5 separate regions of the Homo sapiens genome follow, and regions 2, 3, 4 and 5 are each linked to region 1. Evidence: promoter capture Hi-C in 16 types of primary human blood cells and fetal thymus (Javierre and others, 2016). All regions are on one chromosome and are shown on one strand. Each heading gives the region's core, a stretch centred on a gene start or on the middle of the fragment in contact. The rest is flanking DNA. Distances are from core to core; before and after follow the strand shown.

Region 1 (5,008 bases), core at 1,266-3,765:
TTCCCTCGTCGCGGCCCGACCCGCGCGCGGACTCGGCTTCCCCAGGTCAGGACCCACTAGGTGGGCCGCTCGGCCCCAAGCCTGGCAGGGCGGAGCCTAGGCCGCGCGCCCCGGGGTTGGAGGTTCCCACGGAGCCGGGAAACTGCGCGCCCCAGGTCCGCAGGCCGCCTCCCTTCCCTCGCGCCCTCGCACCCGCCCTCTGCTCTGCCGCTCCCGGTCCTGGGTGTGCGGGAGTCCCGGGGGTCCCTCTCCTGGACGCAGAGGAGGAATTTGGAGCAAAAGGAAGGGAATTTACTGCGGATGGCACCGGAACCTGAATTGACTTGTGCGTTTCCTGCTCTGGGCACGTAGGTTTCCCCTAGGAATCTGGAGTTCGCTGAGGACACTTAATTCCAAGAGATGATGGGTTCACATAAACATACCATTTAGTTAAGAAAAATATTTAAAATAAAGAAAAAAGAAAAACTGAACTTCGATCTTCTTCTCCACGTTCCCTGGTGTCACCAAATAAACAAAGCATTCGGACGAGAGTGGGCTGCTGGGGGCTCGGGAGGTGCGCGAGACAAGGTTACCCTGCGGGTCCGCCACTGCCCCCGGCCTCCAGCACTGCACTGCCCACGAGTTTGCGGGGTGTGAGCGCCGAAGGAGAACCCCGGACCGCCCAGTCTCAGCCTAAAAACTTGGATCCAAGAGTCCTACGGTTGTGGATGTGCCAGTCCTCCGCGACCCTTTCCTGCTGGCCTTCTGCTTTTTATAAACGAAAATAAAAGTTTGATTTAGGCTTAAAGAAATGTCATTCTGGTCGTTCCTCCCTGAAGCGGGACTTACTCAACCTCATATACTCGCCCGGAATTTTCAATCTCGCCTGTCGAAATCGCTAGCTGCGCATCCGCGGAAGAAGTCCTGGATGAGAGGTAGGGTGAAGGGATCAAGCAGATAGCAGCAGGCATCAGCACACTCCGGCCGTTCCGGACGGTCAGGCCCGCCGCTACAGGGAGAAGTGCGGCGGATGGAGCCAGGGCTGCGGGTTGCGCGCGGGCTGGGAACCCGGTGGTGCCACCTTAAGAGTCGGGTCCGCGCAGCGGCTGCGGAGGCGCCCGGCACCTGCAGGGGGCGCTGCTGCCCCGTGGTTTCTCCCGCGCCGCCGCGTGCAGCGGGCCTGGCAGCTCCGGGGCCCCGGTCCCCGGAGGGGGTGGGGACGCTGGGGGAGGAAGGGAGCGAAGTGCAGCCGTTAGGTAACGAACCCGAACCCTCCCGGATTCAGAAGCGGCCTCAGTGAGGCGTTTGCTGGAGGGAGCTTTCCATCATTCGGCCGCGAGAGGAAACGTGGGGAGGCGCCCTCCCCTGCCCCCACCGCCTGCCTTCCTGCCTCCCTCCACCTCCGCTCCCCGACCCCGACCGTGCTTCCCAGACCCTTTGTTCTCGAGGTTGGGAACGGCTGGGTGGGGGTTCCCCGGGGAAGAGGTCCCCCGCGCCGCTCGGAGGGGAAGGGACTGTCGCCTGCCCCGCACCCCAGCCCTCCCCAGTGCCGTCCCCCTTTCCCCCGGCCCCTTCCATCGCGTCCACGCGCTTCCGTTCTCACTCGGACTCCCCCAACTCCCGAGCTCCGGCTCCCCAGCCTGCACGGTCTGCAAGCCCGCCTCCCTTCCCACTTCCCCGCCACCTCTGAGGTCCCCGGGAAGAGGGGAGGAGAGGGAGACGTGTGGGGGAGGAGAAACCACAGAGCCTTCTCGGCGCGGAGCATTCCCAGGGACCCTTCCAGGCCCCGACCCCTGGGACCCGCTGCAGAGGCAGGGCTTTCCCGGCGCCGCCGCAGGTCGCTAGGGCCGCCCCCGCCGCGTCGCCCTGGGGCCCACGGGTGCACGGCCCGGGCAGCAAGGCAAGGTGCGGCCTCTCAGCGCCAGGACCCGAGACCCCCAGCTGGAGAGAAGGGGACACCGTGGTCCGCGCCCTGGGGAGGCTAATTGCACACGAACGCCCCCCTCTTCCCCGCCCCCCACCGTACCCTCTGCAGCGCCACCCGCGTCGCCTCTCCGCCGTGCGCCACCCTGAGGGCTCCCGCGATTGCATCTTCTTGAGCACAGTTACCAATGCGTTCAGCTTCGTTTCTTACTCGGATGGAGACATCGCGGAGGGAAGCGAGGGGACAGGGATGCGGTAGTAGGGGAAAGGTGGGGCGGGAAACCGAGCAGAGAGGTGGGAGACTTGGCTGAGGCAATGGCACCAGGCAGGGCCGCCCGGAGTCCCGAGTCCAGGTCCGCGAGGCAGGCCCCGGTGCAGCCGCGCCCCGGCCGAACCCTACATGTCCTCTGTACTGTGGACACGAGTCCGCGGAGCGCCAGTCACACCCCCGCACCCCTGCAAGCTCCCGCCGTAGAGGGGGCTCGGCACCATCCTGGTCACAAAGTACGTGCCCCCACCCCCCACCCCCAGGTGAAGAGGACGCAGCCCGGCGCCGTCAGCTCCAGGCTGCCTGGAGCCCCCTCCGGCCTCTCGGCGCGACCCTGGTCCTCAATGGCTCGTCGCGAGCTGCGCTAGCTGCTCTCTCGGCAGCGGGTTCCCCAGGACACACCCAGTCCCCACCCCCCGAGAGCTGGCGGCCAGCTCAGGATGCCAGGCGGCCAGGCGGGCGCCCTGCCAAATTCCGCGTTCCTCTCCAGGAGACGGGGAGTTGCGTCCCAGGCTCGGGAAAGCCCGCAGTTCGGGCTTGGGACTCGCTTACAAAGCCCCCCAAGGCGCCAGGGACGCCTCTGCAGGTTGAATTCCTGCTCCGTATCACTTCAATTTTAATTAATCTTTTAAAACACCGCTGTCACGTCGCTTGCAGAAAATTAATCAAACTTGAATCCTTGTTGCATAGCAAGAATTTCGATCCGAGTCTTTTAAAAAGGACTTGACTTTGCAAAGTCACGTCTTTTACAGTTCCCTCATTCCCCCTTTAGCAAGGGAAATACTGCAAAAGTCAAGACATGTTTGTTTGGTTCTTTCTATCTTCAAAATGAAACTTTGCTTATTTCTGATCTTTATTTTCCTGTCTTTGAACAAAAAAAAATAACGAGATAAATTGCCTACCTCGATTAATTCAAAGTATAATTACTTTGAATGATCTTTGTTTAAGAGCCCAGATAAACTAAGATAATCTTAATTTTAATGTGACACGACCCCTATTTTTCCTTGTGAATAATGAGAATAAAGCAGTCATTAATTAATACCAAGATATCTCCATAGAAGATGGTATCTGTTCTCGCTGAGACACTGAAACATCAGTTGTATTAGTAATTGATACTGTATAATTGAACATGAAGATAGCCGTCTATTTTTAACCTCCAAGCTCAGAGTTTATTTGGTGATTATTGAGCTCCTAATAATTAATTTTTTTCCTTCTTACTGCATAAATAATTCTTACGACTCCCAGTTCCCATGCAATGCAGAGGCTTCTCATTAAAACCTACCCCTCAAAATATAAGATTGTGAAGCTATATTGTGCAGCAACTCCTTCTATTTCATTATTTGTAACATATTTCCTCTATTTCATATCTTCCTGGTGCATTTCCTTTGCTGTGATTTTCCTACTAAATCTATGAGAATATAACTATAACATCTTTTACCATAGCTTTGTCTTTCTGTGATCTCTTGGTTCAGTTTAATACACAATACTTAAGACTTCAATTTTTCAAGTTACTAAAATTTGAGGATGAGTTCCACTGAAGAATCAAAAATACTTGTATAGTGAAGTTGCCATGGATTATATTCCCAACCTAACACACAGTCCACTTTAACTCACACTTTTCTGTTGTTAAAAATAGACTTTGCTCAAACACATTCCCTTTTTCCAACTTGAGTTGAAGAGAGTTCTCACAATTTCCTGGGTTAAATGTACATGCTAACACAACCTTTGACATTAAAAAACAAATTCCCCTCCCGCGTTGGAGAGAAGTCTTCCAAACAGTCATGGAAATTTAGACTGTAGCTTTAAGGTATCTAATTATTTCTTAGCCTCAGTTATTTTGGGGCATCAGAATGATCTTCACTTTTTAAGTGGAAATGGTTATGATATTTTTCTCATACATACAAAAAACTCTCTACTTATTTTTCCAATAAAGTGTCTCCCAAGTATGACATGTTGTATACCACACAAATATTCTTAGTACCTCCGCTACCAAATCCATGCATTTTCCCTGTCAGTGCTCTATCTAAAATTCTGGAAAGTATAGAGGGTTTCCACTTTTATTTCCCCCTTAGTACAATTAAAACTTTAGGTCAATATATAACGGAGTGATTCTCTGCACTTGGATTTTATATTTTCCCACTATAATTTGGACTGGAATGGGATTAAAACAGCATCTAGAGTTCTAATCTTGGTTGATGTTTTGGTGTATTCACCGTAATGAGTCCTATTCTCTGGGGTCATGAAGCTCCCAAATGTCAATCAAGCAAACAGATTCAGAAATGCCATTGTTCGACTCCCACGTCACTCGCCTTCCTCTCATTTTATTTAACAATACCGGAGTTCTCTGATCAGTCATTCGGAATATGAGGCATTATCTGGGGAAAATTCACAAAGTGTCTTGATCTTTCTTTGGGAGATACTGTTAAGGGGTTTCCGCAAAGCATAAAGTGCTTGTTTATATTTCTGTCTTTGGACCGCACTGTGGATGGAAAGAACCAATGAATACTGCTTGAAAGGAAATCATACCGTAAATCCGTCAAAAATTAATTCGTCCAGTTGAATGTTACATTTCTATTTTCTGTTTTCGTGTTGGAAGCACCCTGATTTGTCACCAGAGGAGAAGTATGACCAGGTCTGGGTCCAGTTGACATGCCCCCACGTTCAACCCTGTCTATTTTCACCACTTAATACTATTAATGTGTTTAGTCTAAACTAGTTAACTAAGAATTTATTTGGGGGCGAGGAAGAGCCAACCTTTGCCCTGGGAGTTCTACCCAGCCCACTCAGCTACGTCCGGGAGCCTCCGCAACTCGCATTTCCCAGTCGCAACCCTGGGTC
Region 2 (4,822 bases), core at 644-3,143, 480 kb after region 1:
TTAGGGAAAGAGTAACATATTTAGATGGGCAAAAATATAATAGGGAAATCTTAAAATGCACTGAAGAGGTCCATAAATTAGCTGCTGCATAAGCAGCTTTATCTATATTACAGTTTATTACTTTTAAGAGAAACTTTGAATCTTGAAGGACCATACAATAAGATTTTTTTTCAAAAGACAGTAATAGATTTATTGCTGGAAACTGTATTCATCTTCCTGATTCCAAAATACAGTCATGTATCTTCTTTATCCATATTTGAGAACCAGGATCAAATTTTTACATAGCCTACAAAATCTAGAAAAGTATATACCAACCAGGCATGCAACATTTGGTAATGAACATATTGTAAAATGTTGGCATATGTAAAAGGCTTTGATTCTATGAGGTAGGGCCAATAATAAAAGCATGTGATTGTTCAGTCGTAAACTAAGGCAATCCATACAAACATTTATTAACTGTTACACTGTCTTTTCCCTACTACCCACAGGTCCTGAAAGTACCAACATCATCCCACTGTCATCTGAAATTACATGCCACATCTTCTTCTGGCCAGTTATTTGTCACTGAATCTTTGTAGTAATAATTCCTAAGACGCTAGTCAAATAATAGGAAAATGCCAACAGACCATATTAGTGGGGGAGAGTTAAAAGGAATATGTACATACTGTATTTCTTAACCCATCAAAAATCAACAGAAGTCTGAAAAGGTTACCCTTGCATTTTAGGAGTAAGCGATGTTTTCCAGTTCTGTTTTTTTTCTCAGCTCTTCCCACTAAGCAACAAAACGCAAACGAGCTAGAGAATTCTGCCTTCCTTATGCTACAGAGGCTATGTTTAATGACTCCTGTGGCCATGTTAAAATCAGTGGAGGAAGAGACAAACACTGCAGCTTCTGCCTTTCTCTAAGTCTTCTTGAATGCCGCCGGCCCACCCACTAGGCTCCCCTATTTCTCTTTTCTTCCGTAACAACAACAGCACAAACATTGCAAAAGCAACCAATCAAAACAAGTAGCATCAGTAAAGGGGCAATGGGGCCAATGGTAAGCAACAGAAGCAAAAAGCAGTGACAGTCTCCAATTTGCTCTCATCAATGAGTCAGAGCATACTAAGGCTTCTTTGTACGTAGGTAGAGAACATGGTGGACACTCACACTGCTGGCCTCTTACTCTCCCGGCAATTCTCACAAACACAAAAGTAGAATCCTAGGACTCAGTACTTAAATACCAGAACAACATTCAAGACCTTATCTTAGCAATTTTTTAAAAAGAAAACTACCACACTTAAGAAATGAAAAAAACACACACACACACACAAAATGACTATGCAAGTAAACTTTTATTATGTAGCTAAAAGCTGCAATTTAGATAGTCTAATTAATCTACAAAGCTCAGTTTCTATAAAACAACTATTAGCAGGTTTTCTTCAAGAATTTACTCCTTATTTTGTAGACATCCACGTGAACTAAAATATGAATCAAAATAACAACTCTAAAGGAGAAATAATTTCCCAAAGTAGTAATTACTAACTAAACCCAAGAAAAGACTTGTGTGGCTTAAAGAAGTACAGATATCTCTCTATTTATAGGCTGAACACCCTAATTCCAGAAGCCAATTTTGAACTTGAGTTTAGAATTGATTCCCAGTGCAGGGGACCAAAATATACATGCCCAGGCGCCAACAGTCAATTATTAAGCTTTTTTCACATTAAATAAAAGAAAAACATCTTAACACATCCAATACATATTTAAGTTAAGAGTCAGGAGGCTTATGTTATAGTGCAACCCTGCATATGAACATTATATTATTTTAAATCCCCACTTCCCCACCTGGATAGTGAGGGTTCCTAATCAGTGTTTTCTCTCTTTTGGAAAGCTGATGTGATTGTCTAATATAAAAATTCTTTGAAAAACCTACAGAAAAATAATAAGTAAATTTCTTTTCAAAGTGACAAGGGAAAAAAAATCTATGCCCAAGATATTTTTCTACATTTGTACATCAAACCAATATTTAGATGATATTTAACAGCAAAAAGTTTTTTAACAATAAGAATGTCTGTTTTTTATATAGGAGCATTTGACTTATTTTGTAATTTAGATAAGCTTCAATAGTTTCTCTTCCTAAAGCTCTTTCACTCCTCACAAGTTCTTCCATCTATCTCATTCCTCATCATCCAAATATATATAGATTTTTCTTAACTTTTTAAATAGGTAATACAATATTCAAAAAGTACTTATGAACATAAAAGTTCCTGGCAACCAGTCACCCAGAAGCACATCTCCATCAAGAGGGAAATTTGAACAGAGGGAGAGAGAAACATGCAACAACATGCAAACTCTTTAAGAATTTCCATTATTTCTTGAAGCAACATTTTGTAGAACTAATACACTGATAAAGTATAGAATTTGAAAGCCTCTCCTTTCAGTAAAGTGGGAAAGTCGATTAGCAAGTGAAAAGATTGGCTCAGAACCTAGTAAGACAGGGGTCAGCAATTTCTTAAGCTTGAAGTGCTTTCAGTAAAGCCAGACAATGCTAGGGAATAGCACACACAGGCCTAGTATTTACAGACAACATGTGGCAGTCTATCAGTTGATTACATTTTGTCTTCCAATACTATCAAATTATTTCCTGTATGTAAAAGGCAGGAATCCTACATTTCTGTCAAAGATTCCACAAAACCTGGCAGTGCTAGTGACTACTAAAGTAGATGAAGAAGTAGAATGAGTCACAGGAAAAAGAGGGAAAAGACTGGAAACATACACAAACTTCCCACAAGAGCTGATACAAGACCCAAGAATCCTAAGGTAAAAATACTTTTAAAAACTGTATCATGAAGCCACCATTTATTCAGAGTCTGTAAATTCAGTAAGTGATATGTTTATACAATGTTATCAGAAACATCTAAGGCTATAAAAAATACATATATAGGAAATACCGACTCTGGCTAAACACACTGTCACTGAGGTGTAATCGGTTACTCAGATTATTACAGATTAATTACCTCTATGACTTTTTTAATTTGAATGATCTTATATACAATTAGTAAACAGCGGAATGATATTCTTATAATGCAGAGTTAGGTATGTAAGTTCGACTTGATTTTTTTTTCCCCTGGCACATTCATTTTTTTTTAATGATCCAAGATAAGTTTTCTTGCAATTAAAGACAAAACCTTAGTAAAATATGAAGATCTTTTAAAAAAAACCAGCTAGAAATCTATTAGACGTGCCTTCTATTAATATAAGTAGTAGCTGGTTTTGTGGCTTCAAGAACTTCTATGGTTTCTACTATGTAAAGCTATCTGATCAATCTCTGAGTGCAGCTCAAGAAGCTGCAAAGACATTTCCTTCATTTTCAAAAGGGCTCTTATCTGAATCATATGTATTTTTATTCAACTGATCTAAAGAATCTATATCCCAAATAAGGAAGCATGAGAACAAGGGTTTAAAGGATTTTAAGAACTATGATGCCAGGTTAAAATGCTAGAGGAGATTTAATTGATTTTTTAAAGTATTATTATTTTCATGAGTGCTTATAAGGTTCCACAGATTTTGAACGCTGTACCTCAACCCTATTTTTCCCATAGGTACTGTTATTTTTAGGGTGTGACTTTGCAGAATATGAAGCCATATATGGTTTTACAGTGGGAATACATGTACTTGGATCTGGTCTACCTGGATAAAGTAAGAAATAATGGAAAGTAAACTAAAGACAGAATACCTGTAAAGGAGATATCCTTATTTATAATTTTTCTTTTTTTTTTTTTCACCATGGCTTTACCTTCTGCAAGTCAATCCGGCTAAGGTACAATGGATAAAACGATTATCAAGCTTCTCTTTCTTACCTACCCACAGCAAACTTTGTTCCAGGCCTTTGACACCTTCATTGTTTTTGATAATAATCAAAGCTTTCTGCTCCTATGACTTTTGCAGTCATATGTCAAAACTGCATATGTCTGCTCCTATGACTTTTGCAGTCAAAAGTCCTATGACTTTTGCATTCTGCTTATTATGAATCCTGTTCAGAGTTTATTTTTGTCTTGTTCCCCAGCTTATTTTTCCAGAATCAAAACATTAACAGAGTTGCGGGGCTGGAAAGTCCTTAGGTTATCTAGTCTAACTTTACACTATTCTATATTATTAGCTACAAATATCTACTGACCACAGGGCTAAACAAGTGCTAGAAATGGCAGTGAACAAAAACAGGCACAAAATCCAGATATTGAACAAACTATATACACATATACACACATATATTTCCTAGTTCTGTCCATTAAGAAGTAATTTCCTACAAAGAAATTAACAAAGAGAAAATAGTAATTTTACGGTGGAGAAACCTGGCAGACACTTAACCAAATGATCAAAGTTAACATCATCTGTGATGAGATATATGGATATCATGTGCCTCCTGATACAATACACTGAAAAGGGCACACCACTTCCATAGTATTTATAACAAACATGCATAGTTTGAATTTAATCATGAGGAAATATTAGACAAACCCAAACTGTGGGACACTTTAAAATATAACTGTCCAATATTCTCCAAAAGTGTCAAGGTCAAGAAAGACTGAGGAACTGTCCCAGAGTGGACATAAATGAGATAAAACAACTAAATGTGTGATTCTGCACCAGGAAAAGGATGTTAATGGGACAGCTGGAAAATCTGAATAACATCTGTAGATAACACTGTAACAGTGTTAATGTCCTGGTTTTTATCAATTTATTAAGGTTACATCTGAGAAAGCCAGGTGAAAGGTATATGAGAACTGTATTATTTTTGCCACCTTTTGTTAAGCCTAAAATTATTTCAAAATGAAAAATTAT
Region 3 (5,545 bases), core at 345-2,844, 500 kb after region 1:
GGTCCTGCTTCATCCAATCAGAAATCTCTCTTTCCACTGCAATTCCTTTCCTTTATTTTTGTATAACTCTGTAAGAAAGGCTTTGGAATTGTTTTCAACTAGGTGGAATTAACTGGTATCATTACTGTCTAAACAGACCCAATAATGCCCACAGTGGAAAACAGTTCTGAAAGTCACATAGTACCATTTATGGAATAAGCAGTTCACTGAGAGAGAGCATAACAAAGCTGAGAAAAGGTTTATTACAGACACTAGGCATTTTATCAAACAACTTTTATTGGCATTACTTACAACTGCCATATAAATTCTCCTCTCAGCAATCAAGTCAAATAACCTCAACCTCTGTTTTATTCTCAACATTGAACAAAATATGATTGTGAAATTAACCACATTAAACCAATCACTAGGTAAACTGGTAACCCATATAACGTTTTAGAATATATTTCTAGGAATAATTGTAATAGCAGAAGCCATTCCACTTTCCCAGTTCAACTTAGGCTATTGTCTATGAATAACAAAAGATACAATATTCTAAGAGTGTTCTCATAATTAGTGTAAAGAAAAAACTGAGAATAGCATAAAAGGAAAAAGGAAACTTAAAACTAAAAGAAAGTCTCTGTTCCATCAGCTCTAGATTATATGTGGCAAAATTTTCACAATAGACTTGCTTTATCCCATAAAATTGGCTCAGGCATCTTCCACTAAACTATACATATCACAAAAAGAGTGTGTACATAAGAAAACTAATTTTATGATAATTCTATCTGATGCAAAGATGTATACAATTAAACAAGTACTTATTCAGCTCTAACGCTATGCATGCCTACATCAGAAATATAAATGACTGAAAGGTTATCTACCATTCTAGATTCTGTGTATCTCTTTCTCCAAATTAAAAAAAATTGGATTCTACAATAAAAATGGGGAAGCTATTATTACACAACACACATGTACAAAGGAATAGACTCCACAGAGAAAGACTGAACTACACTCAACACCACAAGCTCAGTGGATTCCACTGCAAGAATCACTGGACAAAATTGATAATCACAGTACAAATTCACCATCATTCATGAATGAAATCATCATCTTCATTTCTAAAAAGGACTGTGATGGGCTTTAGGGAGGCCCCATTAACTGGTTTTTCCCATCCAAAAAACTGAGTGGACACAGGAGTCGGGCAGACAAGAGATGAACCTTTATAACTGATACAGCTATTGAAGAATACAGGTTAAATGTGATGGCCAAATGGGCTTGCTAGCAATTTGTGCCCTCTCCTCTACATTCTAGACTTTGAGACAGTATGCTCAAGGGTAAGTCTGGTTAGGATAATTGCCTTACTGGTCTGGGCAGAGAGGTGCAAAGAGACTGATTCCCACTACTCATAGCTTTCTGACTGATCAGCTCTTCCTAATCAAGCAAAACAGAGCAAAGGCAATCACCCTCCAGTAAGGTAACTCACACCGCCATGGTAAGATGTTAGAGATGGGTCTAGTGATCAGTGGTGTTTTTTTAGGGAAGTTCCTCCCAACCATGGGGCACGGATGAATGGGCAATAATTGTCCCTCCTCTAAACAGGCTAGCTAATCTGTACATTTGAAAATACAGGCCGAATGAGCTTAAAAGGTTTATTAATTCCTATCTAAAAATTAAAATCCAAATATTTTATAAGCACATCCCTGTTCTTCTGCTTTTCTTCTGTTAACCAAGTTTCAGCATTCATTTGAATATAAGGATTTAGTTATAAAACACGAGAGAAAGAGAATGAAGCACATTTTCTAGCTACATAAATAGAAGTCTGTAATGACTGACTGGCACCATGAAGACAAATCTTGACTTCAGCATAAAGTAAATACTACAAAATTTAAGATAATTTAGCTTGTCATTATTTCAATTCACAGATTTTTTTAAATGAATATGAAGTGTTTACTGTTGGCTAGAATTACTGTATACAAAGGATAAGGAAAGTCATGGTCCCAAAAGACAATTAAAAGAAATATAGAGGCTGGGCGCAGTGGTTCACGCCTGTAATCCCAACACTTTGGGAGGCCGAGGTGGGTGGATCACCTGAGGTCAGGAGTGCAAGATCGGCCTGACCAACATGGCGAAACCCCATCTCTACTAAAAATACAAAATTAGCCAGGCATGGTGGCAGGTGCCTGTAATCCCAGCTACTCGGGAGGCTGAGGCAGGAGAATCGCGTGAACCCAGGAGGCAGAGGTTGCAATGAGCCAAGATCGCGCCACTGCACTCCAGCCTGGGCGACAGAGCAAGACTCCATCTCAAAAAAAAAAAAAAAAAAAAGAAATACAGAATTGCCACTGACCCCACAAGAAGTACAGGTGTCTGAGAAGCAGGTGCTGTTACACAAAATATAAATACTGTGCAGGAACCTATAATTTAAGATGGTAACGAAAGATCTTTCAATAGCACATCTTTTTTCCTACACTCCTCTCTCATCTTCCCCCCATCTCCTCTGAAAAGATGCAATATCCAAATTGGAGTGCCCTATTATTAAAGTCATTCTAAACATGGTATGAATGACTAATAAATCATCTGTATATACCCCCCAACAAAGACTTCTGCAACCCCTTTCTAGACTTCTAGAATGGACGTGAAATCTAAGGATACATGGAAGAAGATTCTTCTGCTGCCTGAAGGCTGTGAAAGATTACATAGAAGTAAAATCTGTTGAGTAAAAACTGTCAAGCAACTACTTGTTTGGGGAATTACAGTTTGCATTTAGTTACAATGTTTATAATGTTTGATTCAATAAATATTTAGGTGTTTACTATGTGCCTTACTATGAAGAAAATAAAAAGCTACCATCTGTCCTAAAAATGAGGCAACTAACTTGTCCAAGGTCATAAGGTGGTCTGGTCCAAGTTCTAAGTCATCTGTTATTCAGATTATAGAGCTTAGAGAGTAACTGAGTTATCTTATACCTGGTGGATAAGGGGATAAAGAAGATGCCACAGACAGTCACTACCATCTCTGCCTTCTAGTTTAGGATATGGATATCTCAAAAGAATGTTCTATATTAATTGTCTCCAATTCTTCCCTTTCATTCTCTCCTGAACCCAATCTACCCAGACTACTGAACTCACCACTTCACCAAAACAGTTCTTACTGAGGTAGCCTGTGACCGCCATACGGTTAATTCCAACGGTGAAGTCTCAAAGCTCATCTTATTTGAATCATCATCATCATTTAACCCAGCTGATCCCTTTGTCTTTGAAACACTTTTTTCACTTGACTGAAGAGAACCTTGTATTGGTTTGCCTCCTACCTTACTGGTCGTTCCTGCTCTATCTTCTTTGTTGATTCCCCTCCATCTTCTTGACTCTTTTTTTTTTTTTTTTTTTTTTGAGACGGAGTCTCGCTCTGTCGCCCAGGCTGGAGTGCAGTGGCACAATCTTGGCTCACTGCAACCTCCGCCTCCCGGGTTCAAGCAGTTCTCTACCTCAGCCTCCCGAGTAGCTGGGATTCCAGGCGCCTGCCACCACGCCTGGCTAATTTTTATCTTTTTAGTAGAAACGGGGTTTTACCATGTTGGCCAGGCTGGTCTTGAACTCCTGACCTCGTGATCCACCCGCCTCAGCCTCCCAAAGTGCTGGGATTACAGGCGTGAGCCACCACACCCGGCTCCTTGACTCTTAAAGTCTGGAATCCCCAAGGCTTATTAGCTCCCAGATCTCTTCTCTTCTCTTTTACGTTCACTCCCTTGGTGAACTCATCCAGTTTTGTGGCTTCAAGTTACTCTCTAAGTGCCTCGGACTCCCAAATTCCTATCTACAGCCCTAAACTTTCTTCTTGTAACTCTACACCTGAATAACCAATTGCCTACATACCAGCTCAACTTCAACGTTTAACAGACACCCCAAATTTAGCATGTCCGTAAACCAAATTCCTGATGTTCTCCAAACCAGGCTCCTAGTCCAGGTTTCTCCATCTCAACAAATGGCAATTGCATCCTTCCAGTTACTGAAGCCAAAAATCTTTAGAATTATCTTCAGTTTCTCTTTTTCTCTCGCATACCACATTCAAGCCATCAGTAAAATTCTGTTTGCTCCATGTTGAAATTCAATCCAGAATCTGACCATTTTGCACCACCTCCACTGCTACCACCCAGGTCCAATCTATACCACAATTATCCCTCTAAGTAACTAATGCCTCACAGACTATACTCAGTACACTAAAGAGATCATTTTGAAATTCAAGTCAAATCATGTATCTTTTCTGTTCAAACACCACCTCCCCCAACTTACTTATAAGTAAAAGCCGAAGTCCTTACAATGGCCTACAAAGCCCTACATGGTCTTCCCTTACCACCTATGACTCAGATCTTGTCTCCTATTGCTGTTCTCCCATTACTGTTTTCCTTGATCACTCTGCTCCAGCCACACTGCCTGCCTTGCTATTCCTCAAACGCTAAGCAAGCTCTTGCCTCCTGGCCTTTGTGCTTACTGTCTGCTCTTCCTTGAATGTCCTTCTACCATGCTATGGTCTGAATGTTTTTGTCCTTCGAAATTCTTATGTTGAAATCTAATCCCCATTGTGACAGTAATACAAGGTGGGGCCTCTGTGAGGTGATTATATCACGAAGGTGGAGTCCTAATGGATGAGATTAGTGTCCTTATAAAAGAAGCCCCAGAGAGCTGCCCTGCCCGTACCACCATGTGAGGACACAGCAAGAAGGTGCCATCTATGACCAGAAGGCCCTCACCAGACACAGAATCTGCCGGTGCCTTAATCTTGGATTTCCCAGCCTCCAGAATTGTGAGAAATCAAGTTCTCCTGTTGAAAAGCTGTCCAGTTCATGGCATTTTGCTATGGCAGCCCAAATGGCCTACAACACAACAATTACCCACATGGCTTACTCCCTAACTTCTCTCAGAGGCCTGCTCTGACCATATAACATTTATATTTACTTACTTGGCTGTTTACTGTCTGTTTCTCCCTACTGAATTATAAGCTTAGGGGTTTTGTTTTATATAAAGGTCAACTCCCAATGCTTAAAATCCAATAGGCACCAAACAAATCTCTGTTGCGTGAACAAGAAGAGATTAGTGCACAGAGCCAGGTCACCACTTTCAGCAGCCTACCTACTTTGTTCTGGTCCCTCATGTTTGGCTAGTCACCAAATGGCTCTGGCTTGAAAACTACACATGAAAGACCCTGGACAGGTTGCATTTGTCTCCACCAAATTTCTGGTCCCTGAAAGTCATCTAACAAAGTTAAGATTCAATGTAAAGAAAAAAACTTGTTCCATTCAGTTTCTCTGCTTGGACAGAATAAAATTCCTCCTGGCATTCTTTCCAATTTTAATACAGCTGGATAGAGAAACACAGGTTAAAACAATTTTCTGGATCCTTCTTTTCGGATTCTACCTTGACAAAGAATCTTCTTGATTATCTATGCTTCTTTATTTTCTCATCTTTGCCCAGAGAGTCAAGTGCTCTGGTTGTTCACACTGCCTAATTAACTATGCAAATCAAGTTACATGAAATTATAAATGAAAATTCTATGAGTGTTCACATGCAAA
Region 4 (4,964 bases), core at 1,133-3,632, 460 kb after region 1:
AGAGAGCACGAGGGACAAAGAAGGGAAGAGGGCTGAACTTATCCTTTTACCAGGAACCCACCCCAATAACTAACCATCTCCCACCATAACTGCACTAACACTTTCATGAGGGTAGAGCCTTCATGACCTAATCACCTTTTAAAAGTCTCACCTCAACACTGTTGCATTAGGGATTAAGTTTCCAACACATAAACTTTCGGAAATACATTTACATCATACTATCATGACAAAAATAACTGTGTCTAATTAGAAAAAAATTATTAATTAACCATAGGTTTGAAAGTTAATAGATTAAATAAGAGGACACTAGAGGTATTATTTTCAAGAGTGCTGCTTATATATACACATATAAATTTATGTACATACACATAAATACACATACATATATAAATACATATTTATGTACATATATAAACATATGTATATAAATTATATAAATATAATTTTTATTTATATATAAAACACCTCTCCCATTACCACAATGGGCCAAGCCACTATAATTTTTTGCCTGGATCATTACAAAATCTAACATATCTCCCAGCTTCAGACCCTACCTGGCACCTTGCCTCAACAGTCTATTTTCAGCACAGCAGCCAGATTAAAACAAAAAACAGATGCAGTTAAAAGCCTCCAACAGTTTATACATAACACACACACACACACACACACACACACACACACAAGTAGGTGTAAATTTTTCTTTTCAGACAATTCTTATTTCTAGATTTTTTTTTTTTTTTTTGAGACAGAGTTTTGCTCTGTCGCCCAGGCTACAGTGCAGCGATCTCGGCTCGCTGCAACCTCCGCCTCCCGGGTTCAAGTGATTCTCCTGCCTCAGCCCCCCAAGGAACTGGGATTACAGGTACCCGCCACCGCACCTGACTAATTTTTGTATTTTTAGTAGAGACAGGGTTTCACCATCTTGGCCAGGCTGGTCTTGAACTCCTGACCTCGTGATCCACCCGCCTCGGCCTCCCAAAGTGCTGGGATTACAGGTGTGAGCCACTGCGCCTGACCAGAATTCTTTGTAATAACTTTAACCATATGTATTTTGCCAATCCCTGATTATAGCACTGTTTCTTATTTCTGATTATTCAGAAACCCTTTAAAGAAAGCATGGAAGAATAAAGCCTCCTCTATTCACTTAACTTTATCATTAATACTTTCATTGTCATCTTAATTCTTTTCCTCTATTATCCTATTTGTTTTTACTGCTGTAAATAAATTGTACATATTATATTGTACCTTCCTTTTGTCAGTATATATAAAAGTTTCCATTTTACTTCATAAATTTAATAAAGTAATGTTTATGTTTATGGTCAAGTAATGTTATAGCTCCACTGAGTTAATTTAGTATAATCTACTTACCCATTCATATTTGATCTTTGCAATAGTTCTGTACTATATCAAATTGGCAACTAAACATTTTTCATGTGTTTACTTTCTTCTCTATCACCACGGCCATTATTTAGGCTTTACTCATCTTTTTTCCTTTTCAGTTATTTAGTCTCTTTATACTTTGCTTTCTGTCAATTACACAAGTAACACATGAATAAATAAATACATACATTCTTCTTCAAAGCCTCATTCTCTCAACAGAAGTAATTATCATCAGTTTGGTACATATACTTCTCAATATTTTTTTAAAAATGTGCTTACTTTCATATATGTGTACATGTAGAAATGTTCCACTTTCTTTAAGTGATGGTACATTAAGTGACGGCAAACTTAATGTACTATTATTAAGCAAAATACCTTTCTTATATTAAAACAGGCTCATAATACCTGCTTCTGTCCATTCACATATTTCTCTACTGGGCTTTACTGTAATATTCAGTTTCATATAAGATATGCTACCTAACACTGGTTTTACCAAGGATTTGGCTTTTTATTAGAAGCATATAATTGAGAATACCATTGTATTAAATATATACTATTTTAAAACAGAAACATATAAGTAGAAACCTGAAACTAAAACTATAATGGAGTTAAAAAGTTCAACCAAAATTTCTCCATATAATACTAATAAAATTTTAATCCAAATGATTGAGAAATGAAGGTTTTTTTCTTTCTTTCTGGTATTTATGTATTTTTAACAGCTTTATTTAAGTATAATTTACAAACCATAAGAGTCACCTGTTTTAAGTGTTTAGTGATTTTTAGTACATTTATATAGTTCTGCAACATCACGATAATCTAGTTTTAGAATATTTCCATCAACCCAAAAAGATTCCTTGTACCTGTCTCCACAGATTTGTCTTTTTTTTTTTTTTTGAGACGGAGTCTCGTTCTGTTGCCCAGGCTGGAGTGCAGTGGCGCGATCTCGGTCACTGCAACCTCCGCCTCCTGGGCTCAAGCGATTCTCCTTCCTCAGCCTTCTCAGTAGCTAGGACTACAGTGCGTGCCACCACGCCCAGCTAATTTTTCGTATTTTTAGTAGAGACGGGGTTTCACCGTGTTAGCCAGGACAGTCTCGATCTCCTCACCTCGTGATCCACCTGCCTCGGCCTCCCAAAGTGCTGGGATTACAGGAGTGAGCCACCGCGCCTGGCCCAGATTTGCCTTTTCTAGGCATTTCATATAAATGGAAGGGATGAGGTTTTTCTGATATATTTAAACGTCAGATTTGGCAGAAAAAAAAATCACTATTTTTTTTGCAGAAAAATTTTGCTGTTGAACTTCTTTCTAAAAGTTATTAACATGCTTTGTTCATTTGGTAAGAACATTTTGAATATAACAGAGCTCCTTCTCCTTCTTTACTTCCTACCCTTCCTTCTCTTCCTTTTACCAGTTTATGCTCTTTTAATATTTAACAATCTTTACTCTCAACAGCCCGGTTTCTCAGTACAGAATGCATGGAAGGTATGAGGAATTGGCCTTTCTAGTTCAACTCCACTAAATATCCTGATAGTTTAACAGGAAAACAAAACACCAAGAAATCCAACATACTGAACTTTTTTCTTTTTTTCTGAGATGGAGTCTCGCTCGGTTACCTAGGCTAGGATGCAGTGGTGAGACCTTGGCTTGCTGCAACCTCTGCCTTCCGGGTTCAAGCAATTCTCTTGCCTTAGCCTCCTGAGTAGCTGGGATTACAGGTGTCTGCCACCAGGCCCGGCTAATTTTTTTTGTATTTTTAATAGAGACGGGGTTTCACCATGTTGGCCAGGCTGGTTTTGAACTCCTGACCTCAAGTGATCTGCCTGCCTCAGCCTCCCAAAGTGCTAGGAGTACAGGTATGAGCTACTGCGCCCAGCCACACTGAACATATTATATCCTCGAGATGTTTTAGTTTCTCCTGAATGTGGAATACATTTTTAAAACACTGATGAGAAATCCGGCCAAGCACTGTGGCTCATGCCTGTGATCCCAGCACTTTGGGAAGCCATGCAGATCACCTGAGGTCAGGAGTTTGAGACCAGCCTGGCCAAAATGGTGAAACTCTGTCTCTACTGAAAATACAAAAATGAGCTGAGCTTGGTGGCAGGTGCCTGTAGTCCCAGCTACCCGGGAGGCCAAGGCAGGAGAATCACTTGGACCTGGGAGGCAGAGGTTGCAGTGAGCCGGGATAGTGCCGCTTCACTTCAGCCTAGGCGACAGAGGGAGACTCCATCTCAAAAAAAACAAAAACAAAAAAAAAAAAAAGAAGAGAGAAATCCATTTTATACAGATCTCCTAAAATCTGTAATGTTATCTCCAAATGTAACTCCATCTCCCAAAAATTTTGGTGTCACTTTTGACTCCTCTTTCTCTCACAGTCCACATTCAATTCATTAATAAGTCTTGTTGGGTCTACTATCAAAAGCATACTCAGAATCTGAATACTAACACCCTTACCATTACCACAATGGGCCAAGCCACTATGATTTTTTGCCTGGATTATTACAAAATCTAACGTATCTCCCAACTTCAGCCCCTGCCTGGCACCTTCTCTTAACAGTCTATTTTCAGCACAGCATAGAGATTAAAACAAAAAACAGATGCAGTTAAAAGCCTCCAATGGTTTTCCATTTTACTCAGATCAAAAGCCAAACTCCTTAGTGGTTATCTTAGGAATTACAATTAACATCTTAAACTTGTAACAACCTAGTTTAATTTAATCTAGATAACCACTAAGAAAATAACAGGAAAGAACAGAATCAAAATAGTACACCATTTAAAAAATCAACTAAATACAAAAACAGGCAGTAATTGAAGAATTCGGGAATAAAAACATGTAAGATATAGAAAACAAACAGCATTAAAGGAAACAATCAAGAAAGTGACAACTAAGGCCGGGTGCCTATTATCACAGCACTTTAGGAGACTGAGATAGGAGCATTACTTGAGCCCAGGAGTTAAAGACCAGCCTGGCCCACATAGTGAGACCTTGTCCCGACAAAAAAATTACAGATATTAGCCAAGCATGGTACTTGGAGGCTGAAGTGGGAGGATCACTTGAGCCCTGGAGGTTGAGGCTGCAGTAAGCCAAAGTTGCACTGCTGCACTCCAGCCCAGAGGACAGAGGGAAGACCCTGCCTCCAAACAAACAGTGAAAACTACAGAAGGAGAAAAATATTTGCAAATCATATGTCTGGTAAGGAGTTAATATCCAGAATACATAAAGAACTCCTACAACTCAACAACAAAAAGACAAACAATCCAATTAAAAAATAGGCAAAGGCACCGTGGCACATGTATACATATGTAAGAAACCTGCACGTTCTGCACATGCATTCCAGAACTTAAAGTAAAATTTCAAAAAAATGGGCAAAGGATTTTAATAGATATTTCTCCACAGAAGATAATACAATAGCCATGAAGTATATGAAAATATGCCATCATTAGCCATTAAGGAAATGCAAATCAAAGCCACAATATATACCACTTCACAACTACAATCATTATAATTTTTAAAAAGGAAAATAATGTGTTTTTGAGGATGTGGAGAAATTTGAGCCTTTATACATTGGTAGTGGGCTCCAACA
Region 5 (5,137 bases), core at 717-3,216, 430 kb after region 1:
TCCTCAGCCTCCCAAAGTGCTAGGATTACAGATGTGAGCCACTGTACCCAGCCAGCCTTTCCTTTTTTTTTTTTTTTTTAACTAAAAGTTATTTGGTTTGTTAATTTATCAATTTAACTGCTATTCCCTTTTCCAGCAAAATTCAAATAATGCATCTGATTTCAGAGAAAACACAATTATATAAAAGGGAAATAAATAGGAAACATGTCTATGACAATTTCCCAAATTACCAATTCCTGGAAGGTTACACATTTAAAAGTATTATTTAATGAATATTTATAGTAAATAACTGTGATACCAAAATGCATTTTTTCATATCAATATGTAGATAATCTTCTTTTAGAAGATAATGCTGACTGTGCTCTTTTTTTTCCTAAAGGAATTATAAACATTAAGTAATTGTCTGCAGAGATGTCTGTCTCCTGTATGTTTAAATACTCATAGGTCACCTGGCCTCAGGCACAAGCTTTAGAGGAGTGATTCTTAGCTTCATTAGTTAAGACTTTTGCCTCAAGGAAAACCAGTTACCAAAGAGTTACTTGTGCCTCAAGGGGTATAAATACTACAGCTGTTTGTGTAACTGTCACATTCATTTTTTCTATCAACTGTCTAAAATAAATGAGAGAACTAATCCTGAAGAGATGATGTTATTTATTAATAGATGATTCCATGTTAATGAAGAAACAATTTATATATGAGAAGTGATTTGTTTTGAAAAGATAGAAATAATTTTGGTAACTGAAAGAAATTACAAAGTTTATTGACTTTTAAGATAACAAACAAAAAGAAAAAAACCTCAAGCCAAAAATATTAGAAAACTAAATAAAGCTACCTTTACAGGCACATTCTTGATGTGTGAAACAAAACTAGGGCTCACAGAGAAACCAACTAGAAAATATGCACAGAATGACCAAAACTTCTTTCAACACGCTTCTTGGACTCTTTCAACACTATGGATTATCTCAAACCAGAGGAATGTCTGCTATGGTATCTGGACCAATGCCAGCCCTTGTTATAAAGTGAAGAACACTTTAAGAGAAGATCTTGAATCCCTGTGCTTTGCAATCTGACAAGCAGAGGTATTCAAATTAAACGGTTAAGATGAGAATCAAGAATGGTAGCTAACATTTTAGGATACAGACTAATTCCAGATAATACATTTGAGGAAAGATTCAGAATGTAACATAGCACAATTTATAGGGTTGTCTGGAGATGTATTACCCCCCTAGTGAAGGACACAGATATTTAGGCTGGCTTTTGCCTAAATGTCAAATAGCCAGGTGTTGTTTTGTTTTGTTTTTTACAGGTACTCTTGTATCGTAGAACATTTTCAAATTTTGGATTGTGGTCCACTAGTGTCTCATGAAATGAATTTAGTGAACCACAACCAACATTTTTAAAAAATAAATAAATAAAAAACACCAAAAGACTAGTCTAGCCTAGAATAGAAAATAATGTGTTTAACATGCAATAAGAAATATCTTGTGAAACTATTGTTTTAGTTATGTGTGTGTGTGTGCGTATGTGTTGTGGTCTGACTTAAAAAACTTAGAAGGCTGCTGAAATGATGTCTACATTCCATACATTCTGTAGGAGTAGAGGAAAGGGGCCTCTGTGTAATCTCCTCTTAAGTCACTGGCATTATAAACTACTACATAAATATATTGCCAGTCTTCTGAAAGGGGCACAGAGAAGTCTTAGAGTGAGGGGCTACCTCCACTCTGAAGTTTAACCCTGAATGCAGAATTGCCGGAGCAGAGTAAAGGAAGGGAAGGAGGCAAAAGAAATAGATGCAAGAGGCAAAGTTTTCTTTCTTCTACAGGCTTACAGAAGCTTATATAACTGGGTTATTCTGAGAGTGAGGAAATATCAAGAAAGAGTACTAACTTGACTATCACTACAGTCTAATTCAAACATTTAAGGAATGGGGGGGAAAAGCACCAAGCATCAGGCACAGATAGGAGCTATTACTGACATATGGGAAGGAATGGACATTTATTTGAATTCAGGCAGTATTTGTATCTCCCAGGGCATAAACACTCATGTTAAAAGTCGTATTAAGGAAGCCCGGACTTGCTAACATTATGACTCAAAATCCTGAAGCTTGTATGTATCAAATCAATCTAGTGAATACTTTCAATAAAATTAACTCTGCTTCAAACACACATTTTTAAAACACTGCATTTCTCGGAAGGAACAAAAATAAAATGCTAACATAATAATAAAATGTTTAAGAAGACTTAATTCTTTATAAACTGTAGCATGAAACTATAACATCTTAATTCAAAAGCAGAAATGAACACTCACCTCTGCCTTCGTTCATCATCCTTTAAAACTTCATAAATGGCCACCAACTAAAATAAAAGCATTACTTTAAAATAAAAATACTCTCAACTATAAGAAATCACATAGGAGGGTGAAGGCACTACAATACACATGCAGAAAATCCTATGTGCCTATATATACAATAAACAGATGAAATCTCCTTTATAAGTAACACTATGTTTTGGTAGTACCTTAAGAGATTAAAAATGCTTGATATCAAAATAAATCTTTGTGACAGTTACAAAAGTAATACTTATCTTAAAATGTGCATTTAGAAGCAAAAGCTGTAATTTAGACAAGAAAATTATGACAATTATGACCCTCCAAGAATTTAGAGATGCTAATACAAAATAGTAAAAATGCATTTTGTAGAAACTTGAAAAAAAATATACACTATATTTTAAACTACTACCTCATTTTCAAATGAAAATATTCCATATATAAGTGAATATTTCTACCATCGACATGTTAATACATTTGTCACAAAATATATATATAATAGCATATTTCACTTACTTGTCTAAACTGAGTTTCTGCATTTTCATCTTTATTCTTGTCTGGATGTAAAGTTAGTGAAAGCTTACGATATGCTTTTCTGATGTCTGCAGATGATGCATCCTGGAGGTGGTAGGGGGAGGGGAAAATACAAAGCAAACTTTGTCAGAAAAAGAAATTCCCAGAACCTTGTTAAGATCTGAGAAGACAGCCAACCAAGTGCAGGACCCCAGGCAATGTAATTTGAGCAATCAGTCTTAACAACCAGGCTATGCAACAAGCCTGACCCACATGACTGAACAATTATTCAATCTAATTTGGCTCTCCTCTTAACTTTTCATTACCATACAGTCATTTAAAGAAGACAGTATTTGGCGAAACTTTTCAAACACTTGCCTTCCTAAAATTAACCAATAAATCTTTTTCAGTAATTAAGAGATCAAAAAGAAACAAATTAAAAATTAATACATCGGTGTGCCTTCAAAGAAACTCTTTATTTACTGGCAAATGTTAAAGCCAATTTCTGAATCCCGGGCTAACCATATGGTTTCTCTATTATTTATATTGAGTTTATCATCTCAGCAACAACCTATGGAATCTCACTTTCACATGTCAAAAAGCATGCCTATCTGAAGGGAGTTAAATTAGCATTTATCAAAAATTATTATCATTAGAAAGAGTTAAATATACTATACTTATTTACTTAGTACTTTAAAGGGTATTTTCAATGTTGGCCAGCCTCCTCAGTCTGGTTCATACAAATAAATTTGCCCAATATTTATGTATTACTTGTATAGTTTAAATATATTTAAAAGGTTACCGTGGTTCAGTACTTAGATTAAGTGGATATTAAAATTACATTTTATATAATCCTGTGTGCACAGGTAAAATCAGACAACATCATTTTTACATGGCCAGTATAAAATGCATAATAATAACAAAGAATACACTGTCAAGTAGGGTTTAAAACTTTTTTTGAGACAGTCTGATTCTACCACCCAGGCTGGAGTGCGGCGGCACAATCTCAGCTCACTGCAACCTCCACCTCCTGGGTCCAAGAGATTCTTGTGCCTCAGCCTCCAGAGGAGCTGGAATTATAGGCATGCGCCACCACACCCAGCTAATTTTTGTATTTTTAGTAGAAATGGGGTTTCCCCAGGTTGGCCAGGCTGGTCTCGAACTCCTGACCTCAAGTGATCCAACAGCCTCGGCCTCCCAAAGTGTAGGATTACAGGTGTGAGCCACCGCGCCTGGCTGGGGTTTAAAACTTGATCTGTATTAAACTTAAAGTGTATTAAAATAACATATTAATATTGGGCAAAATGATAGTAAACTTGCTTACTAAATGTCTCTCATTTGATAGCTGACTGTCTAATTAATTCCAAAAACTATTAAGAAGTTCAAATGATGAAAACACCAAACCAAACCAACACAAAAAATCTATATACCTGGGACTAAATATTATCAATAGTTTTTAAATAGAGTTGGAGAGAGACAAAGTGAGGCTATAATTAGTCTGTCAGGCTTGTCTTTATAAACCATTATTTTTATTATCAGTTTTCTGGGGCTTGTTGCTCCAGACTAGTATGTTACCCAGGGTGTGAGTATTTTTGTGACTTGTGGAAGGCTGAGGAGCTATAAAAATTAACTAAAGTACTGCAGGTAACATGGTTGTAATTTTCATTCTACTTTGCTTAATAAAATTGACATGTTCCCTACATAGACTACAGATAATGTGGTAGAAATAAATGATTATTTAATGAAAATCTGTGATGAATCCTATTGTTGAGCAAAGACATCAAGTGTCAAATGAATAACCAATCTCTAATTGGGATTTTAATTGTAGATTTTTTTAAATTGGGACTATATAATAAACCATTCCACAAGTATATTTCATACAAAATAATAGCTATGTATTTTCTATTACAAAATTAATACATGTTCACTACAGAACATTTCTTACTTAAAAATAAAAACAACTAATAGTAACCTAAGGCATTTCCCTGCTTCCAGTCTTACCATTCTGATCCCCCAATCCTCCATTTTTCTGCCACCATATGTACCCCAAATGTAAATGTGGTCAGACGGCTCTCCTACTCTAAACCCTTGAGCAGCTACCAGGTGCCTTTGTCACTGGTGTTTTCCAATTTTTTTAGCCTTATCTCCCACCCTCTTGGCTCATCCTCCTGGTCCCCCAGATTATTACACCTTAGGATACACAGTTCACCAATGTCATGTTGTTTTTCACCCAGCTACAGATACAGACAGCTCTCTTCTAAGGAACAGGGCTCTGTTTCTTATACACAAATATTGCCTG

Evidence for each region. Contacts are between HindIII fragments. The CHiCAGO score rates a contact against its expected background, and 5 or more counts as called.
Region 2: a contact is called between a fragment that was not itself captured here and the fragment with the promoter of MIR1915HG in region 1, in 6 of 17 cell types (total CD8 T cells, activated CD4 T cells, non-activated CD4 T cells and 3 more). The highest score is 7.3, in total CD8 T cells.
Region 3: a fragment that was not itself captured here is called in contact with the fragment with the promoter of MIR1915HG in region 1 in 7 of 17 cell types (fetal thymus, non-activated CD4 T cells, activated CD4 T cells and 4 more); the score reaches 8.5 in fetal thymus.
Region 4: a fragment that was not itself captured here is called in contact with the fragment with the promoter of MIR1915HG in region 1 in 9 of 17 cell types (naive CD4 T cells, activated CD4 T cells, non-activated CD4 T cells and 6 more); the score reaches 13.0 in naive CD4 T cells.
Region 5: a contact is called between a fragment that was not itself captured here and the fragment with the promoter of MIR1915HG in region 1, in 1 of 17 cell types (activated CD4 T cells). The highest score is 5.6, in activated CD4 T cells.

What each region holds. Positions count from the first base shown.
Region 1 is chr10:21,494,745-21,499,752 of GRCh38, forward strand. It overlaps MIR1915HG (MIR1915 host gene), which reads right to left and starts at 2,516. Exons shown (of 2, transcript NR_160800.1): 1 at 2,006-2,516; 2 at 1-1,201. MIR1915 (microRNA 1915) reads right to left here and starts at 1,897; the gene lies at 1,818-1,897. RefSeq lists an enhancer at 1-572 and silencers at 84-183, 997-1,436, 1,487-1,536, 1,747-1,996. The HindIII fragment of the contact is 8,649 bases long and covers 1-5,008 here.
Region 2 is chr10:21,975,964-21,980,785 of GRCh38, forward strand. The region is part of intron 1 of DNAJC1 (DnaJ heat shock protein family (Hsp40) member C1); the gene reads right to left. Among named protein-coding and RNA genes, the nearest start is that of DNAJC1, 25 kb to the right of the region's middle. The HindIII fragment of the contact is 406 bases long and covers 1,691-2,096 here.
Region 3 is chr10:21,996,106-22,001,650 of GRCh38, forward strand. All of the region lies in intron 1 of DNAJC1 (DnaJ heat shock protein family (Hsp40) member C1), which reads right to left. Among named protein-coding and RNA genes, the nearest start is that of DNAJC1, 4.9 kb to the right of the region's middle. The HindIII fragment of the contact is 6,758 bases long and covers 1-4,973 here.
Region 4 is chr10:21,956,173-21,961,136 of GRCh38, forward strand. All of the region lies in intron 1 of DNAJC1 (DnaJ heat shock protein family (Hsp40) member C1), which reads right to left. Among named protein-coding and RNA genes, the nearest start is that of DNAJC1, 45 kb to the right of the region's middle. The HindIII fragment of the contact is 7,617 bases long and covers 1-4,964 here.
Region 5 is chr10:21,926,199-21,931,335 of GRCh38, forward strand. DNAJC1 (DnaJ heat shock protein family (Hsp40) member C1) reads right to left here. Exons shown (of 12, transcript NM_022365.4): 2 at 2,842-2,943; 3 at 2,308-2,354. Among named protein-coding and RNA genes, the nearest start is that of DNAJC1, 75 kb to the right of the region's middle. The HindIII fragment of the contact is 270 bases long and covers 1,832-2,101 here.